3 separate regions of the Homo sapiens genome follow, and all the other regions are linked to region 3. Evidence: promoter capture Hi-C in human tissues and cell types (Jung and others, 2019). All regions are on one chromosome and are shown on one strand. The core of a region is centred on a gene start or on the middle of the fragment in contact, and the rest is flanking DNA. Distances in the headings are between cores, read along the strand shown.

The links. The method cuts DNA at HindIII sites, captures the fragments that hold promoters and counts their contacts. A contact is called where the count stands out against the background at its distance.
Region 1: a fragment that was not itself captured here is called in contact with the fragment with the promoter of SHISA9 in region 3 in 3 of the 25 tissues and cell types used here (psoas muscle, small bowel and spleen).
Region 2: a fragment that was not itself captured here is called in contact with the fragment with the promoter of SHISA9 in region 3 in 1 of the 25 tissues and cell types used here (mesendoderm cells).

What each region holds. Positions count from the first base shown.
Region 1 is chr16:12,863,319-12,868,296 of GRCh38, forward strand. No RefSeq gene overlaps it. Among named protein-coding and RNA genes, the nearest start is that of SHISA9, 36 kb to the right of the region's middle. The HindIII fragment of the contact is 3,145 bases long and covers 47-3,191 here.
Region 2 is chr16:12,934,246-12,939,257 of GRCh38, forward strand. All of the region lies in intron 2 of SHISA9 (shisa family member 9), which reads left to right. LOC105371092 (a long non-coding RNA gene) reads right to left here. Exons shown (of 3, transcript XR_001752088.3): 3 at 3,896-4,009. Among named protein-coding and RNA genes, the nearest start is that of SHISA9, 35 kb to the left of the region's middle. The HindIII fragment of the contact is 6,366 bases long and covers 1-5,012 here.
Region 3 is chr16:12,899,067-12,903,556 of GRCh38, forward strand. It overlaps SHISA9 (shisa family member 9), which reads left to right and starts at 2,532. Exons shown (of 5, transcript NM_001145204.3): 1 at 2,532-3,561. The coding sequence starts at 2,999. The HindIII fragment of the contact is 6,671 bases long and covers 1-4,490 here.

The DNA of each region.
Region 1 (4,978 bases), core at 369-2,868, 37 kb before region 3:
GGTGCAGTGGCTCATACCTGTAATCCCAGCACTTTGGGAGGCCCAGGTGGGTGGATCACTTGAGGTCAGGAGTTCAAGAACAGCTTGGCCAACATGGTGAAACTCCATCTCTACTAAAAATACAAAAAAATAGCTGGGCGTGGTGGCAGGCACCTGTAATCCCAGCTGTTGGGGGAGGCTGAGGCACAAGAATCGCTTGAACCTGGGAGGCGGAAGTTGCAGTGAGCTGAGATCCCACCACTGGACTCCAGCCTGGGCGGCAAGAGCAAAACTCTATCTCACACACACACACACACACACACACACACAAAACAAGTCTGGCTACTTTCAAGCTGGGACAAGCTGGTCACTTTATGGCATCAAGCCTAAAGCTTACTACCTGTGTGAGCTCAGCCTCCAAAGCCTTAACTTCATTTTGCTAAAAATGGAGATAATGATACTGACCATATAGGATTATCAGAAGGATTTTTATGTTTGATATCAAGAAGGCAGTGATATTTGAGTAGGTCCACATTTTTGGTCTTGTTTTCTCCTCAACATAGCCCTATGATTACATAGAGCAGAAATTACAAACCCATTTTTTCAGGTGGAAAAACAGTGTAGTGGATCCAGTCACTTGTCTCTTCTAACATCTGTTCAACTGTTTTTCTAGGACGTCTCTCGTACTGCAGAGACTGGAAAGTGAAAATCTGTAACATGTTTTCCAGACTCCCTTGTAGCTAGCGCTCCTGGTCTGATTCAGAACCACCAATCATATGGACTCACCAAAGACTTGAGTTTAGAATGAAGTTTGGTGGGGAGATGAGGCATCCAACTTGGTGTTAGCTCACAGCAGATGAGATGTGGCTTGACAAAGAGCAGGAGGAGGGATTGTTTCCTGCATCTGGGCCATGGTTAAGGTGGTGTGATCCTGAAGCCAGACATCAGAAGGTGGCTTTCTTTTTTTCTTTTTCTTTTTCCTTTTTTTTTTTTGAGATGTAATCTCGCTCTGTCACGAGACTGGAGTGCAGTGGCGCGATCTCATCTCACTGCAACCTCCACCTCCCAGGTTTAATCGATTCTCCTGTCTCAGCCTCCTGAGAAGCTTGGACTACAGGTGAACACCACCACATCCGGGTAATTTTCATATTTTTAGTAGAGATGGGGTTTCACCATTTTGGCTAGGATGGTCTCGATCTCTTGACCTTGTGATCTGCCCACCTTGGCCTCCCAAAGTGATGGGATTACAGGCGTGAGCCACTGCGCCTGGCCCAGAAGGTGGCTTTCTGCTGGCCCTTCTTCCTCTTTCTCTGATGGGCAAGTTCTGAGATGCTGCTCTGGAAGTCGTTCCTAGAGGACAGCCTAGATCCTGCTCCTCCAGCCCTCATAACAATTTTGTTTGATCTAATTTTTCTTTTCTTTTTTTGAGATGGAGTCCCACTCTGTCACCCTGGCTGGAGAGCAGTGGTGTAAACTCAGCTCACTGCAGTCTCTGCCTCCCAGGTTCAAGTGACTTTCCTACCTCAGCCTCTTGAGTAGCTGGGATTATAGGCACCCGCCACCATGCCCAGCTAATTTTTGTATTTTTAGTAGAGACAGGGATTTCACCATGTTGGCCAGGCTGGTCTCGAATTCCTGACCTTCAGTGATCTGCCCGTCTTGGTCTCCCAAAGCTCTGGGATTACAGGAGTGAGCCCCCATGCCCAGCCTGAACTGAATTCTTTCTATTAAATTCTTTTTTGCCTTACGTAGTGGGAGAGATTTTGCAGCTGAATCCCAGATGATACAATGGGGCACAGAGAAGTTATGCCACTTGTCCTAATAAAAGTTAAGTGTTTGATATTGCTGGTACTTAAAAAACATCCCTACAGATATTAATTTCATTTCCTGTGGATTTTCCACTTTATTTTACTTCTTTGAGCCCCTGTTTCCTCATCTGTCAAATAGAAATAATAATATTTATCTTGCAGGAGATGTGAGAATTGAACAAGGTCATAGATAATAAATTATTAGAGTCATGTAGATAATCCACAAATGGCACCTATTAATAATAAAAACTGGCTTTATAAGAAAGTCTATCAGTTAGGATGTGCTGGTTTTTTTTTGTTGTTGTTGTTGTTTTTTGAGACGGAGTTTTGCTCTTGTTGCCCAGGTTGTAGTGCAGTGGTGCGATCTCAGGTCACTGCAACCTCTGCCTCCCAGGTTCAAGAGATTCTTCTGCCTCAGCCTCCTGAGTAGCTGGGATTACAGGCATGTGCCACCACACCCGGCTATTTTTTTTTTTTAGTGGAGACGGGGTTTCTCCATGTTGGCCAGGCTGATCTTGAACTCCCGACCTCAGGTGATCCACCCACCTCAGCGTCCCAAAGTGCTGGGATGACAGGCGTGAAGCACTGTGCCTGGCCCATTTCAATATCTTAAAACAGAAAAGGTTTATTTCTCGTTCACGCTCATTGATACGTCTAGAGTTGGCAAGGGGTGTTCTGCTCCTCTTGGTTACTCAGGGGTCCAGGCTAATGGAGCAGCCGCCGTCTCATATGCACACTCATGAAAGAAGACAGCATTGGAGGGTCTTCAGTGAGCAATACAATCCTTGGCTTGCAGCAATATGGGGTACGTGCACTCACAATTCATTCTCCAAAACTAGTCACAAGGTCCCACCCAATCACAGGGGAACCAGGAAATGTAGTGCTGTCATGGGATAAGCTGGACAAAATATTTGGTGACCACATAGAGAGTGGAAGTGGAGTGACAACAAGACAGGAAGCTGTGCAGTGCTTCCAACATTTCTAAACTTCAGAACTTGTTCCATCTCCTATTAGGAACTGCAAGACTGCAATTGGATGGTTGGAAAGAAATTAAAGGGCATTTTCAGACAGCTGGAAGGAAGTCTGGAATTAGGAATCCTTCCAACACTTCGGTTTCTCTTGCTTTGCTACATCCCATTCCCCTCCCAGAATCCGGAGTGCTCCATGTGAACATGAATCAGATCACATTATCTTCCCACTTAAAATCGTCAAATGATGCTAAAAAGAAAACCCAAGCTTCTCACGATAGTGCTTCATGACTGTATTAGTTATTGATGGCTGCACAACAAATATTTCCCCAAATATAGGGACTTAAGAGAACAATAAACCTTTATTATCTCATGCAGTTTCTTTATTCTGTTTTTTTTTCCTTCTTTTTGAGACAGGGTCTTGCTCTGTTGCCCAGGCTGTAGTGCGGTGGTGTGATCATAGCTCACTGCAGCCTCGATCTCCTGGGCTCAAGAGCTCCTTCTGTTTCAGTCGCCCAAGTAGTTGAAACTTCAGGCATGTGTCACCCCACCTGGCTAGTTTTTTAAATGTTTTGTAGAGACAGTGTCTTGCTATGTTGTCCAAGCTTGTCTTGAACTCCTAGCCTCAAGTGATCCTCCTCCTTCAGCCTCCTAAAGTTCTGGGATTACAGATGTGAGCCACTGTGCTCGGACTAATGCAGCTTTTCTTGGTCGGGCATTTGGGAGTGACTCAACTGGGTGTCCTGGCTTATGGTCTTTCAGAGGTTGCCATTATGACACAGGTTGGGATTGCAGTCGTCCGAAGGCTTTGTTGGGCTAAAGGATCCAAGATGCACTCACATGGCTAGAAGGTTGATGCTGGCTATTGGTAGGAGGCCTCAGTTCCTTATAACACGGACCTTCCCATGAGACTGCTGAACTGTCCTCATGATACGGTGGTTGGCTTTGTCCAGAGTGAGTTGTCTGAGAAAGAGAGGGCAAGGCAGAAGCTGCAATGTTCTTCTATAACCCAGTCTTAGAACCCACACCCTGTCACTTCCCCCAGGTCCCCTAGGTCAGCCATATTTATTGTTTACACAAGGGTGTAAATTCCAGGAGGCAGAGATCATGGGGGCATCCAGGAGGCTAGCAGGCAGTGACTTAGTGCTCTGATTTTATCTTCTGTTGATTCACTAAGCACTCCTCACATTGAACTTCTATCTGTTTGAAACATGCTAAGCTGAGCCAAACCGAAGGCTTTTGCTTGCTCTTCCCTCCACATGAGATTCTGTTTCTCCAATCTGCTTCATCATCACATTTGGGTTTTGGCTCAACTGTTGTTTTCTTAGAGAGGCTTTCCCTGACCACCCTGTCCAATATTGCTCTTCCCTGCAGTCCCCACTCCAGGCCAATTGCTAGCACATCATTCTATTTATTTCCTTCACTCTTTGAAATCACTTTATTTATTTATTTATTTAGAGACAGGGCCTCGTTCTGTTGCCCAGGCTGGAGTGCAGTGGCGTGATCTTGGCTCACTGCAGCCCTGACCTTCTGGGCTCAAGCCATTCTCCTGCCTCAGCTTCCTGAGTAGCTGGTACTACAGGTGCATGCCACCATGCCTGCCTACTTTTTTCATTTTTTGCAGAGATGGGGGGGGGTCTCACTATGCTGCCTAGGCTTGTCTTGAACTCCTGCACACAAGTGATCCTCCTGCCTTGGCCTCCCAAAATGCCTGGATTACAAGCATGAGCCACTGCACTCAGCTGTAGTCTGAAATCGCTGTAATTACTGATTAGTTTATTAGGCCTCCGTCTCCTCTCTTAAGACTTCGGCTCCCTGAGAGTGGGCTGGGCCCATTATGCTCATCCCAGCATCTCCAGCACCTGGTATAGCTCCTCGTCCATAGCAAGTGAACCATACCTATGTGCCTAGTAAAAGAACAGCCTCCAGCCTCCCACCTCCCATAGGGAAAGTTCCAGATCCCTCAAATTTTCTCATGCCCTCCTGCTATCCTGAACCTGATCTGAAATCGGACCCTGGGTTTGTCCTAAGCTCCCTGCTCCTGTATGATCATTATTCACAGTGCAACCCATGAGTCTGCAAAGCCCTACAATCTTCCTTAAGAGGAGAGGGTGAGAAAAACCTGGTTGGCAGGCTGAGAGGCTGCCTTGCTGCAGGCTTGGCTGGACCCACAGCCAGAGCTCACCCTCCCAGCCCAGAAGCCTTTCTGGTTCAGTTGGTGAT
Region 2 (5,012 bases), core at 1,695-4,194, 36 kb after region 3:
ACTGCTATGCGCTAGACAGTATGTTAGGTGTTTTATACATGTCCTATTGTGTGTCAATGCTTGACCTGACCATCCAATAATGCTTCCCAGTGGATGCTCCATTGAACACTAGTCCTTTGAAATGTTCTTCAAAATTAGAGTTCCTTGGCCAAATAAATTAAAGACTCCTAGAATATATGCAATAAAGCCATTTACATTTATGTTCATCCCAGTGTTTTTCAAACTGATATATCCATTAAACACCTTTTTATGTAACAACTATTGATATATAGGGGAAATAATGTTCTGGAGAGAAGACTTTGAAGAAAGCTATTGGATTAATGTTTAGCTGGCCCTCCTTAATCACTTTCTATGGTGGCAAATTCGTTATGTCTCAAGGCAATACATTTTGTTTTCAGGCAGGCTTCATTCACAGTGAGTTTGCCCTATGGACATTTCAAAGTTATCAGCCAAGCCCCTTTAAAATCGCTTACCAAAGGAAGTGAAAGCCAAAGCCATCAATAATTTTCTTTCCTCTCCTCTCTGTACCCTCATCTCTCTCATCCTTCAAGGCTTAGGGTAAATAGTTTGTGTCAGGAAATTTTGGTTACAAGCAACAAAAGTCAATTCTTCTTCAGACTTAAGCAAAAAAGGGAAATCTTTTGAAGAATATGGGTTGGCTCATAGAACTGAAGGAACGTCTGATGGTCCAAGTTTGGGATGTCAGGAACCAGGGCAGCTCCAACCATGGTCTTATTGGAGCTCTCCTGCTGATATGAATTATTCCAACAATTTTGTCTCTCTTTGTGTCCATTCAAGTGTAAGATTCTTAAACTTGACGGTCTGATTGGTCCATATTGAGTCACATGCTCACCCCTTGGCTGGGAAGGACAGGGGCTTTGAGTGACAGTCTCACCAAAACTGCACATAGTGAGGAATAGGAAAGTCTCCACCATAAAATTGAGATGCTGGTCAGAAGAAGTAGGAAATGGATCATGAGTATTCAAAAAGGGAAACAAACAAACCTCTAAAGACCCAAACAAATTCCATCTCCTCTCTGATCTCTTCTCTGCATTTATGTATATCTTGGTATCTGTCCAAGTCATTTCCATCCCTTAGAATTCTACCAACATCTAGATGCTGCTGATGATATTTCCTGCGTTATTTTCTTGCCCTGTGGCTTAGCTCCTGTGGTGCTCCTTATCTGTGGGCGTGTGTTTGCTTTTTGTCTCTAACTAGGCATAATAATGAAGCCTATGGAATGTCTCCAGCAAAAATGGGCATATGTGATCATGGGAAGCTCATTCATGGGGAAGGAAAATCGAATAATTAGAAGGGACAGGCCGGGCCCAGGGGCTCACGCTGGTAATCCCAGCACTTTGGGAGGCTGAGGCAGGTGGATCACTTGAGCTCAGGGGTTCAAGATCAGCCTGGGCAACACAGTGAAACCCCATCTGTACAAAAAATACAAAAAGTAGCTGGGCATGGTGGCACGTGCCTGTGGTCCCAGCTACTTGGGAGGCTGAGATGGGAAGATTACTTGAACCTGGGGAGGTTGAGGCTGCAGTAAGCAGAGATTGTGCCACTGTACTCCAGCCTGGGAAACAGAACAAGAGCCTGTCTCAAAAAGAAAAAAAAAAAAAAGAAGGGACATATGAGATGGAGGATATATTGAGGGGAAGGAGATGTGAGTGGACATGAGGGCCAGGAGGGAACGTGTTCTCAGAAGGCTACTGAGGCAGGTGGAAAGGAACTAGCCTTACTTGAAGAGAGGGGCTGCCTTCCAGAGTGAGGAGTGATGAAGCCGACTGACAAATGGAAGGCTTAGAAGTCCAGGTAAGGGAATTTAGAACGGAGTCTCTGGGAGTTCTTGAGTAGATGCATCGTCTGATGTCCCTTCGCTAGCAGGTGCTTCGTTGGGTTCTTGGGATGACGGGTGAGAAAGGCCTTTAAGACAATTTGGGGAAGCTCTCCAGCAATCTCAAACAGCTGCCACCACCTTACCCAGGAAGTCCTTGTTCCCACCCTTCTCCAAAGCCTTTTGAGGGTTGCTAGGAAACTGGGGATACTTGAGCAGTTGGGATCTGATTATAATAATTTTCTAGGTTTCCATGGCTGGAGTAGGAGCCAGGTTGGTCCAATGTCATATTCTCTTACCTTACTGTGGAGCACAGTGAGGCATAAGTGTCTTTAAGTTATGTGAACTCAACTCTGTGATCTCAGTTCAGGGATGGGAGAAGGGATGGAGGAGGGGAAGAAAGAGAGAGAGTGTAACATAAATAATGTGAGTATTTCTGTTTCCCATTCCACACAATGAGCATATGCTCAAAGTGAGATGGGAGACATGAGTCTGCTTTTGCTTCAGACAGACTCACTTCCCACGAGCTTCTCCAGAGTGTGATTCTAGCATTTAAAGATATGCATTTTTCATATAACTTGGCCCCTAAACACAAGCCAGTTACTTCATCTGGTGCTGAACCAGAGAAACAGCCATCATGGGTAATTTTGGCTGAATATGATTTTAGCTGCTCCCTCTGGCCTCAGATCTCTACACGAGACAAGACTCTACTGTTATTTTGTAAAACCCCTACTCGGTGCCTATGAATGATGCCATATGGCTCCTGCTTGTTTACAGATTTGTCTAAGCCCTTGAGGTAAACGGAATCCAACCATTGACACCCTTGACACACAGCACGGGTTGGCTAGAGGGCGGTGGGGTTTGTGTATTTGTTCCTTACTCCAACACTGTCTTTTAAGATCACTATTGTAACCTGGAACACAGGATATCCCCCAAGTAATTTCACATACTTAGCTGGTCCTCTTGTGAACCACAGCTCCTTCCCCTGTGTTGTACAAGCCCACCTATGTGCATATTTTTTGAAATTTTAAGAATTGAGTTTTAGATGATTTGTGGAGCTTGGAATTTCCCAGAAGGATGACTTGCTCAGGTCTCTAGGCAGTGTCTTATGTCTAGCAGTCTGTCCATGTACATATAGTACATTTAAAAAAATTAACGTATTTATCTATTTGAATAGGTCAATATGTACATGGTAGAAAAGAAAGTAAAGCAATATTCAAGGACGTGAAGCAAACACTAAGTGCCCTCTCTCCTCAAGCACTCTAATTCTCCTCTCCAGAGTCAACCACTGTAATAAGTTTATTGTCTGTTCTCACAAAGATATTCTATGCATTTACTAACATTTCTGAACACTTCTGCACCTTGCTGATTTCATTTAATAGTGGGCATATTAGTCTGCTTGGGTTGGCCTAACAAAATAACACAGACTGGGTGGCTTAAACAACAGGAATTTATTTTCTCACAATTCTGGAGGGTAGACATACCAGACCAAGTCCATCAGGGACAGTTTTGGAGAGGGCTCCCTTCCTGGCTTGCAGACAGCCACCTTCTTGCTGTGTCCTCACATGGTGGAAAGAGAGAGAGCACTCTGGTGTTTCTTCCTCTTCTGATAAGGGGACCCACCCTGTGAGATTAGGGCCCCATCCTTATGACTTCATTTGATCTTTGTCATCTTCTCACAGACCCCATCTTCAAATACAGAACCATTGGGGGTTAGGGTTTCAACATATGAATTTTGAGGGCACACAAACATTCAGTCCATAACAGTGGATACTGGAGACTTTTTTTTGCTTTTGGTCTATTTAGACCTAGATATATCTTTTGCCCTTTTGCTGTGAGCTGAGCCTGGAGGATTGGTACCAGCTGTGATTTTATAAGGTGAGGCAGCTGGAATCCAGAGAGGTAAATGGAATCCAACTATTGAAACCCTTGAGGAGCATACAGAGATCTTGGCCAGTGGCCACCAGTCTCTCCTTGATGAACTGTTGCTGGACTTGTAGAATGGATTGTGATTCTTATGAGGCCATGGCTGTCCTCAAAGCTTAGTGTAAGAGGGAAAGCCTTGGTTAGGTGTTGGGGTCCATCCCGAGAAGGGGAAGAATAAAGCTATGCTTGTTCCAATCTGTATATTTTCCGATGGGTCAGTTCTTCATCTTCCAGAAGCTCAGCAGCCTGGGGGAATTGAGACCATAGTGGGGCTATCAATGACTTACTGCAACTCTCCCTGGAATACCTCTCTCTTTTCTTGCTAGACAAGTCTTACACATTTTGAGAACTCAAGGCAAAGCTCAGCTCCTTATAATCGATCTATCTGTTTCTTCCACTCCCATGACTCTTTCTTAGTGATGTGCTCAATTCTGTTCTCTCCAAGTCAGCTTACATTTATTGACTCCTAGGGGCTAATTCTCTCTCTCTCTCTCTCTTTTTTTTTTGAGATGGAGTTTCACTCTTGTTGCCCAGGTTGGAGTGCAATGGCATGATCTTGGCTTCCTGCAACCTTTGCCTCCCAGGTTCAAGTGATTCTCCTGTCTCGGCCTCCTGAGTAGCTGGGATTACCGGCACCTGCCACCACGCCCAGCTAATTTTTTTTTTGTATTTTTAGTAGAGAGGGGGTTTCACCATGTTGGCCAGGATGCTCTTGAACTCCTGACCTCAGGTGATCTACCCACCTCAGCCTCCCAAAGTGTTGGAATTACAGGCGTGAGCCATTCTGCCTTTTGACTTTCCATGCCATGTTGCCTTTGACTTTGATTTTTGTGGTGTATCTTAATTTTCCTAGGAGTCTGTAGTTTTCTCTCTAACTAGATTGAAAACACATTGAGGGCAGCAAATACTTCTAAGTTCTCCCTCCCATGTTGAGTATGTGCCATGTTCCAAGTAAGCATTGAGGGTGGATATTCATTGAGTTAGTACATTCAGATGATGTTTTGGGGGAAAAACTCCATCAGGAAGTAGTTTCATCTCTTCTCTCCTCTCCCCTCCTCTCCTTTCCTCTTCTCTCCTCTCCTTTTCTTTCCTTCTGATGGAGTCTCCCTCTGTCACCCAGGCTGGAGTGCAGTGGCACAATCTTGGCTCACTGCAGCTTCTGTCTTCCAAGTTCAAGCGATTCTCCTGCCTTAGCCTCCTGAGTAGCTGGGATCACAGGTGCTCACCACCACGCCTGGCTAATTTTTGT
Region 3 (4,490 bases), core at 1,282-3,781:
GGGCGTCTAAATCCAGCCCTGGTGGGGTCATTGCTGTCCATGTGATCTCCCACAAAGGTCTTAACCTCTGAGCCACAGCTTCCTGGAACATAGGAAGCCCGCTGGAGGGTCCCTTTCCATTTCCAATGTAGTATATAGAAAACTCCCACCCTTTATATACATAATGACAGCAGATACTCCATCATCCATGCCCTAAGTGTTCCTTTCCTCTTTTGGTTTAAGACAGAGTCTTGCATAAATTAATTAATACAACCCATGCATTTTTTTGAGTGTTTACCATGCTTAGAACTGTACCCCGGGGCTGCACCCTGCAGCCCCGCACAACCCCAAAGGCTCAAATCCCTGGAGTTGCGCACAGGGCTGGAGGGCGCAGCCATGGACCCGCAAGGCAGCTCCGTATGCCTGGGTTCTAGGGGCTGGGGACATGGTATGGGAGTCGAGGCCCTCTCCATTACACAGTTCACATCTCAGTGCAGGCAAACAGACGAAAACGCAAATACATAATATAGTAGGAGGTAGACAGAAAGTTTGGAGGCCTATTTCATGTAGTGGCTGGAGGGCAGTTTCTGGACTCAAATTTCTTGGGTCAAATGTCAATTCTGGCACTCATTTGGCAGAGCTACTTGGGCAACTGGTTTAACTGCTTTGGGGCTCATTCTCTCCCTCTGTTGTGTGGGCCTGGTACTATTACCTAAGGGAGAGAGAGTTACATGAAACCAGTCACTCGGTGGTTCAGCAAATATTTCCAGACTGTCTGCTATACGCTGGGCACTGCTCTAAGCTTTCTTGAGGAGCTGCTTTTAGAAAAAGCAAGCTTAGTGAGTATGTTGCAGGCACTGAATAAATGTCAGCTCTCATTAGCTCTCACACACCAGTGCTTGTGTTTGTAGGACTCACAAGGTGGTGGTGGGCGTGGGTTGCCAGTCATGACAGACTTTCCATACTCTCCTATTTTGGGGATTCTATTATAATGAATCTGGTGAATCTGGATTAAACGTGTTCATACCTTCCCCAGATGGGTTTGGAATATAATACTCCTGGGTATGCCCTGTCAATGTCTTGCTGTGTGTTTGCAAATCTTTTTTGAAACATCAAAATGTGACTTTTTTTTTCAAAGAGAAGGGGCGATTAGCCAAACTTCTCATTTGGAGAAAACTTGCAACAGAGTCCCAATAAATCCTCCCACCCTTTCTCAATTCAGGGGACCCTAGTAAACCATTTTACATGTCGCCCAACTTTTCGTTCTCTGAAGATGCCCTGAGAAGCCCTTGACTGCAGCCAAGTGGAGAGGAGGGTTGTGGAAACATTATCTCCTTGCAAATCGCCTAGCAGCCTGCAAAGTGTATACTTAGTTAATGCAATTAAAAAACAAAACGCCGGGGCGTGGGGAGATCTAAATTTGGTGTAGCAGCTTTGGTGCAAATCCTGTTTTGGGGCTACTGGAGTCAAATTCAAGCAGAGGAGAGAAAGAGGTGGGAGAAATGAGAGAGGGCCTCCGGGGAGCTGGAATTCGCTAGGAGAGAGAGGGCAGATTTGGAAACACAGAGGAGACGGGAGGCTGGAAGCTGAGGAAGCAAGGCAGAGCTCTGCAGCCCCCGGTGAGGATTTCCGGGGGGATCCGTGGGGACAGGGGCCAGCCAGCTCCAGAGACCGATGCGCGGGCTCCAGGTCCGGGAGGGTGGCTGAGGCTGGGTGCCCAGGCCTTGCGCTGCGCCAGATCCGGGAGCGCAGAGGCGGCGCCGCGGTGTTCCCTCCTGTGGAGCGCAGAAAACGCTGCGGGGGCGAAGAGGGACAGAAAGCGGCAGGTTCGAGAGGCTGGGGGACTTCCAAGGAAAGACCTTCCAGGACACGCCATAGCCTCGGCCTTGTTCGGCTGTCCCCTCTTACCCCCGACCTTCTTTGATTCGTTCATCCCGAGCCCCTCTCCCCCGGAGGGTGCTTATCCCTGGCTCAGGGGCTTGCCACCTGTCCTTCCCAGCTCCGCCTGGGTCCTTGCTTGGGCCCAGAGAGTTGAGCCATGCGGGTTGCGCTCAGGGCTGGAGGGCGCAGCCGGGAAGGGCAAGGAGGCCCCGCACGCCTGGGAGGGGCGATCCTGACCAGACTGCACCCAGTCTGTCTTGGAGTGAAAGCCATTTAGTCTGTCCCCATCCTCTCCGAGTCATCCTTCCCCTGATGCACAGATTTCGGCCGCCGCTCCTGCACACGCACCGGTGAAAAAGCTACGAGCTGAGCCGCCTCTGCGCTCTGGACAGGGCTGAGCCGCGCCTCCTACCCAGAGAGGGCGCGGGAGGTCCTGCCGCGGTTTTCCACCTGCCTGGAAATCCGAGCGGCTCCTCTAGCCTCGGCTGCTGCCGAGCTCGCTCCTCCCCGTCCGCTCGCCTGGCTCAGCTCTGCACGCCCCCCAGCTAGCTCCCGCTCTAGTCACCTCTTCCCCGCGCCCCCGCCCCTCTAGAGCTCGCGCCCGCCCCCCCCCACCCGCGCCTCCTCTGCCCGCCCTCCTCCCCCTCCCCCTTCCCTCCTGCCCTCCCTTCATTCCACAAGTGTCGCTTCGCTCTCTTCAGCGCACTTGGCGAGCTGGTGAGGTGAGAGGGATACTGCGAGAGGGCTAGGGGCGGCCAGTCCGGGGCTGCCGGCCAAGGCTAGGCGCTGCCAGCCCGATTCTCCTCTGCTCTCCACCCCCGCCTCACCCAGTGGCCGGCCGGACCTGCACCCCGCGCTTGACCCCGCTCATCCTCCCCCCGCCCGGCCGGGCGCGCTCCTCCCCGGCCGGCCCCTCGGCGCGCGGCGCGCTGGAGGCGAACGCGGGCTGAGGCGAACGCGGGCTGAGCCGAGCGCAGTGGCCGCCGACCACCGAGCGCCCCGCGCCGCTCCCTGCATGTGCGGCCCGCGGCGGCTCGCAGCTCCCGGCAGCAGCCTCGGCAGCTTCGGCCGCGCCTCGAGAGGCGGCCGCAGAGGCTCCAGCGGCGGCCGAGCGGCCGAGCCCGGGCTGGGAGACACCATGCGCCGCGTCCTTCGGCTGCTCCTCGGTTGCTTCCTCACCGAGCTGTGCGCCCGCGTGTGCCGGGCGCAGGAGCGAGCGGGACACGGGCAGCTGGCGCAACTGGGCGGCGTGTTGCTGCTGGCGGGGGGCAACCGCTCCGGGGCCGCCTCCGGAGAGGCCAGCGAGGGCGCTGAGGCATCGGACGCGCCCCCGACCCGGGCGCCCACGCCGGACTTCTGCCGGGGCTACTTCGATGTCATGGGCCAGTGGGACCCGCCGTTCAACTGCAGCTCGGGCGACTTCATCTTCTGCTGCGGGACTTGTGGCTTCCGGTTCTGCTGCACGTTTAAGAAGCGGCGACTGAACCAAAGCACCTGCACCAACTACGACACGCCGCTCTGGCTCAACACCGGCAAGCCCCCCGCCCGCAAGGACGACCCCTTGCACGACCCCACCAAGGACAAGACCAACCTGATCGTCTACATCATCTGCGGGGTGGTGGCCGTCATGGTGCTCGTGGGCATCTTCACCAAGCTGGGGCTGGAGAAAGCGCACCGGCCCCAAAGGGAGCACATGTCCAGGTGGGCTGCCTCCCCTTCGCCCTCCCCTCGGGGCTTCGCTCTCCCTGCTCTCTCCTCCCCACCTTCCCCCAGGCAATGGCGCTCCCCACGGTCCCCGCTCCCCGCATCCCAGCCTCTCCGCTGGGGGATGTCACCGGGAAGCCAACTTCGGCTTGGAACACGGAGAAGGGGCGCTGGGCTCAGCACAGGTGTGGGTCTGAGCGTGTTCGTGTGTGTGTGAGCGTGTGTGTGTGTGTGTGTGACTCTGCTCCCTCACCCTCTGGCCGCCTCCTCCCGCTGGTGACTGAGGCGGACTTGAGACACGTAGCCTGGGAGCCCGTGGCCCCGAAATCTTCGGGTTTGGGGAGAGGGTCCATGGCACCCCTCGGATTCCAGGTGCTAGCTTTTTGGTAAACAGGGGCAGGCGAGCCCGAAAGGGGAGGGGGGCGTGTGTGAGCCCGAGCGCGCGTGTGTGAAGGAGGGAGGGTCAGAGTGAGTGCCGCCTGCAACTCGTACGACTCGCGAAAAGGAGACGAGGGAGGTGGAGTGAGGGGAGGGCGAGAACAAAAGCCTTGCTTGGAGCGGCCGCCTCGCTTTCCCAGAGCTTCGCCGTCCCTGGATTTGGGACCTCAGCTGCCCCCGCCCCTTTACCCACCTCATCCCTTTCTCTGGCCACCACTTCTCCCTGCCCGGGGCCGTGGCCATCGCTGCAGATTGAGCCCCTTGCCCTGGCTGGCGTGGACTCCGGGGGCCCGAGCCCCCTCCTCGCGCGCCCTCACTTCCAAGCACCCTGATTTCGTCAACTTTCGGGTTTGCCTTGTTCATTATGCAAGCCCCAGCACCAGCTAGTTCCAGCAGATGGGAGAAGGCTTTGGGGGATTAATGGAGCTATTTGCCTTTTGCTTTTTTTAAATTTTTTTTATTTTAAGTGTCTAAATCGATTCGCAAAC